Linked DNA regions of Homo sapiens: region 1 is linked to region 2. Evidence: promoter capture Hi-C in 16 types of primary human blood cells and fetal thymus (Javierre and others, 2016). All regions are on one chromosome and are shown on one strand. The core of a region is centred on a gene start or on the middle of the fragment in contact, and the rest is flanking DNA. Distances in the headings are between cores, read along the strand shown. Region 1 overlaps MKNK1 (MAPK interacting serine/threonine kinase 1). Region 2 holds the start of TEX38 (testis expressed 38).

The links. Contacts are between HindIII fragments. The CHiCAGO score rates a contact against its expected background, and 5 or more counts as called.
Region 1: a contact is called between a fragment that was not itself captured here and the fragment with the promoter of TEX38 in region 2, in 1 of 17 cell types (M2 macrophages). The highest score is 5.4, in M2 macrophages.

Annotation. Positions count from the first base shown.
Region 1 is chr1:46,564,500-46,567,199 of GRCh38, forward strand. MKNK1 (MAPK interacting serine/threonine kinase 1) reads right to left here. Exons shown (of 13, transcript NM_001135553.4): 9 at 542-637. The region is part of intron 6 of MKNK1-AS1 (MKNK1 antisense RNA 1); the gene reads left to right. Among named protein-coding and RNA genes, the nearest start is that of KNCN, 14 kb to the left of the region's middle. The HindIII fragment of the contact is 9,875 bases long and covers 1-2,700 here.
Region 2 is chr1:46,670,562-46,673,261 of GRCh38, forward strand. It overlaps TEX38 (testis expressed 38), which reads left to right and starts at 1,293. Exons shown (of 2, transcript NM_001145474.4): 1 at 1,293-1,410; 2 at 2,312-2,700. The coding sequence starts at 1,374. The HindIII fragment of the contact is 3,767 bases long and covers 306-2,700 here.

The DNA of each region.
Region 1 (2,700 bases), core at 195-2,694, 110 kb before region 2:
GAGTTTTGCTCTTGTTGCCCAGGCTGGAGTGCAATGGTGCTATCTCGGCTCACCGCAACCTCCACCCCTCGGGTTCAAGCGATTCTCCTGCCTCAGCCTCCCAAGTAGCTGGGATTACAGGTGCGCGCCACCATGCCTGGCTAATTTTGTATTTTCAGTACAATGGGGTTTCTCCATGTTGGTCAGGCTGGTCTCAAACTCCTGACCTCAGGTGATCTGCCTGCCTCAACCTCCTAAAGTGCTAGGATTACAGGCATGAGCCATTGCAAACGGCCAGCCTGTGCTTATAGATATAATTTGTCTCTTCATCAGCAGAGAGGACCCAACCCAACTAACAGTCCAAGTGTCAGTTTCGTTAGCAACTAAGGGGTCAGGGGAGGCTTGAGAGCCACGAACACAGAGCAGCAAGCAAAATGATCACTCAGGCAGCAGGAAGATAGGTCCACTTGGTTTTCCATCCTTAACCCTCTGTTCTGGACCTCCCAGCTCTGGATCAGGGAAACACTCCAAATACTTAGGAGCCCAGAGGAAGCATACGTACTGGGGTGGTCAGCTCTGGTGTGGTTATGGGGGTACAGGAGTTGTTCAGTTTCATCCCACTGCCCAAGTCAAAGTCACAGATTTTCACTGGAGACACCTGAAAAGGAAAACAGAAGACAGGGTCACAGATATAAGAAACTACGGGGCAAGAGGAGCCAGGCATGGCTGTACGGGTGCATGGCTCCGTGGCTGTCACACCGCAGCTGGTTTTGTCAGGTCATGTTTGCTCTCCGGAGGTTAACAAGAAGTCCCCTGAGGATTTCTTCCCAAGTGTCTTATTCCCTGAGCTCTCTTATTTCCCATCTAAGGGAAAAATGGGTGGACTATTTGGTGTCAGATTATTGTGAACTCAGACTAAAGGAAGTATGGAACTCTTGCTGGCAAATGATGGTACAGGTTGCAGCACAGCAGCTAGGGAAGTTACTGTGTACTCCTGAGAGACAGACTTCTTGCAGCCCATTCAGTGGAGTGTAAAGGAGCTTGCAGTAAAACCTCTGACCGCCTCAGGTGGCTTAGGGTGACCAACTTGTCTTGGGTGGCTTGCTTGGGACTTGATCAGTTTAAACACGGAAACTCCTGCGTTCCAGGAAACCCCTCAAGCCTGGGAAAACTGGGATGGTTGGTCACCGTAGGTGGCATCAACACAGTAACCAAGTCCACCAGAACTGGATGCTGTGCCTGAGACCACAGACAGGTGCCTCATCTCTGGAGCCAACCAGGAAGGCAGTTTGGGTGCACACATGAGAATGGATGAGAATGGCCTACATGGCATGTAAGCAGCACAGCGAGTGAACTAAATGCTGGTTCTCTGAGACCCATGTCCTTGCCGGGAAGCCTGGGCAAGTCCCTCGACTTCTTTCTCCCCTTCCTTCCTCCCTCCCCTTTTCTCTATTTTTTCTTCTTTTCTTTTTCCTTTAGCCTCTTATTAGTGGTAAAATATAAAGCATAAAATATGAGATTTTAGCCATTTTTAAGTAGACAGTTTAGTGGTATTAATTAAGTACATTCACAGGGTTGTGCAACCATCACCACGATCTGTTTCTAAAACTTTTCCATCACTCCAAACAGAAACTCTATACGCATTAAGCAATAACTCCCATTCTTTCTTCCCCTAGCCCTGGGTAACTTCCAATCTGACTTTATTAATTAAGACTTTCTGTCTTTATTAATTTGCCCATTCCAGATATTTCATATAAGTAGATTTACACAATATTTGTCCTGTTATGTTTGGCTTATTTCACTTAGCATAATGTTTTCAAGGTTCATTCATGTTGCAGCATGTATCAAAACCTCATTCCATTTTATGGCTGACTAGTATTCCATTGAATGTATGTACCACATTTTGTTTATCTGTTCAGCTGCTGATGACCACTTGAGTTGTCTCTACCTTTTTGGCTGTTGTGAACAATGCTGTAATGAATACTGCTATACAAGTATCTGTTTTCAATTGTTTTGGGTAATACCTAGGAGTGGAATTGCTGGGTCATATGGTAATTCTGTGTTTAGCCTTTGAGGAACCGCCAAACTTTTCCACAGAAGCTGCACCATTATATAATCTCACCAGCAATGTATGAGGGTTACGATTTCTCCATAACCGTAACAACACTTACTATTTTCCATTTTTTAAATTACAGCCTACCTAGTAGTATGTGGTGGTATCTCATTGTGGTTTTGACTTGCATTTCCCTAATGACTAAGGATGTTGAGCATCTTTTCATGTACTTGTTGGACATTTGTGTACCTTATTTGGAGAAATGTCTGTTCAAGTCCCGTGTCCATTTTTAAATTGGTTTGTCTTTTTGTTGTAGAGTTTTAGGAATCCTTTATATATTTTGGATATTAAACCTTGACCAGATATATGATCTGCAAATATTTTCTCACATTCTGTAGATTGTCTTTTCACTTTCTTGATAGATAATGTCCTTTGAAACTTAACCTCTCTTTTTCTTAAGAGACAGGGGTCTCACTATATCACCCAGGCTGGCCTCAAACTCCAGGCTCAAGCAATTCTCCTACCTCAGCCTCCTGAGTAGCTGGGACTACAGGCATGCAACCGCTGTGACCAGCTAATTTTTAAATTTTTTGTGGAGATGGGGTCTCGCTTTGTTGCCCAGGCTGTTCTTAAGCTCCTGGCCTCAAGGGATCCTCCTGCCTCAGCCT
Region 2 (2,700 bases), core at 43-2,542:
TATTTAAAGCCAGGGGTCTGGGTGAGATAACTGATGGAATGAATGTAGATAGAGCACTAAGAACTGAGCCCTAGACATGCCTACATTTAGAGATCAGGGGAAAAGGGAGAAACCAGCAAAGGAGACTGGAAAGTAGGGGCCAGTGATATACGAGGAGAACAAGGGTAAGTGGACCCTGGAGAGAATTCTGTGCTAAATAGTTCCCTAAGTCACACATTGGAGGACTATAAAGAGGGGAGTCATTAAAATGGTGCTAAGAAGCTGAGCTACAAGCAGTGGTGCAACATACTGGGAAGGCTGACTTAAGCTTAATTAGGGAAGGGCTTTCTAACTGAGCTGCCCATAAATGCATCAAGCTGCCTCAGGAGGTGGTGAGCAAGTTCCTGACTCAAGTGAGTCTTGAGTCCAGGGAGATTAGTTGCTGTGTGGGGAAAAATCTACCCCCAGGAGTCAAGCATGGCCCTGATGGTGGGATCAGATGGTGGAGATGAACTAGACAACTCTCAAAGTTTCTTCAAATTGGCGATGATATGATTCTGGGCAGTCTGTCACAGAGTAGGGGGGCTGAGCTGAGTCTTGAAGGATGAGCAGGTGTTCAGTGGTGGAAAAGTGGGCAGGGGCACTCCTGGGTGAAGGAGCAGCATGGGCACACCTCCAGAGATGTGAATGAGCAGGGTCTGTTCAGGAGTACGGACTAGGCAAAAGGGAAAAGTGTGTGGAGGACGAGGAGGGAAGTAAGGCTGGAAGTAGATGCAGGCCAGATGGTGGGAAGCCCCACAGGGCCTGGGGCCTGGGAAACACTTGTCAGCACTTGAAGGAAGGTAATTAAATAAAAGACAGATTGTTGGAGCCAAAGAAGGAGGTATTGACCACTTGGTTCCCTTGAGCAGGTTTCTTCCTGCCAACTTGGTTAGATACTTTTTGAGAACAGGGCTGCCCAATGCTGTGTGTTCCTTGTTACATTCCTCACTGGGGACAGGTATCCCATCAACCGTTCCCTAAAGACCAGCAACATCCGTAAGTACCTGAGGGACAATGGCCCTTTTCTGGGGTCTGCTCTGTGGGTTCACCATAAGGGGTAGGTACAGACAATTCAATAGGTGAACCAGTCTCTGATGGAAGTAGTAGTGACATTCCACCCAAAAAATGCCACTGGATGAAGTCCCCTCCTTCCATTAACCCAGGACCACTTCACAAGCACTGCCCCTAGAATGCCCAATTCTCAGAACCCAGTGACCTCTCCTTTAGAGAACAAAGGGCCTGGGCATTCTGGAGACTCTGATTGGCTGGGCAGATGGGCTGACTGGCTGGGCAGATGGGTGGGTGAGTTCCCTCTCCCCAGAGCCATCGGCCAGGTACCAAAGCTCAGCTGTATGGATTCCCAACAGGAGGACCTGCGCTTCCCTGGGAGTAAGTGCTCCTCCAGTCCCTGTCACTGGACTTGTGCCTTAGGGCTTGGGGACAAACACTCAGGGAAGGCCCTTTGCATGGATGGGACAGTGCCTGGCTGCCTGGAGGAGAGCTAAGCAGTTAGGAGATAGTCTACTCTAGAAAACTAAGAATTATTTTAAGGCAAAGACCATGCTCTGATCAACCAGAGAAGATACTATCAATAGCCCAGGACTATCACAGCTGAATGGAATGGGATGGGACATTGGTGTCTCTGTCAACTGATGAACTTTCACTTTTTTTTTTTTTTTTGAGATGAAGTTTTGCTCTGTTGCCCCGGCTGGAGTGCAGTGGCTCAATCTAGGCTCACTGTAACCTCCACCTCCTGGATTCAAGTGATTCTCCTGCCTCAGCCTCTGAAGTAGCTGGGACTGCAGGCATGCACCACCACACCTGGCTAATTTTAAAATTTTTAGTAGAGACGGGGTTTCACCATGTTGGCCAGGCTGGACTTGAAGTCCTGACCTCAAGTGATCTGCCCACCTGGGCCTCACAAAGTGCTGGTGAACTTTTGCTTCTTGATGGACTTGCCCATAGTGAAACTTCTCAGTCTGATGGATTGGATGGGTCCTGGGTTAGGAATCAGAGGCTTGACTGAGCCTGGGCAGCACATGCCCCCGCTAGACCTAGCTTTTGTGATCTGTAAAGAGTTAAAGGTGGTGCTTAAGCTCCCTGGAAATCTAGCTTTGACTGAATAAGGGAATGATGAGGCAAGTCAATAAGGGAGGGAAGGAACGGTGAGAGTAGTTAAGTGGATGGAGCGATTGATGCATGGGTTAAGTGAAAGAGGAATGAGAAACAGCTCAGGCCCCAAGCTACAGCTATCAGCCAGCATGCCTCTTTTTCTTTCTTGCTGCCTTAGTGTGGGTCTCATTGTACTTTGGAATCCTGGGGCTGTGTTCTGTGATAACTGGAGGGTGCATTATCTTTCTGCACTGGAGGAAGAACTTGAGGCGGGAAGAGCATGCCCAGCAGTGGGTGGAGGTGATGAGAGCTGCCACATTCACCTACAGCCCATTGTTGTACTGGATTAACAAGCGACGGCGCTACGGCATGAATGCAGCCATCAACACGGGCCCTGCCCCTGCTGTCACCAAGACTGAGACTGAGGTCCAGAATCCAGATGTTCTGTGGGATTTGGACATCCCCGAAGGCAGGAGCCATGCTGACCAAGACAGCAACCCCAAGGCGGAAGCCCCTGCTCCCCTGCAACCTGCACTGCAGCTGGCTCCACAGCAGCCCCAGGCCAGA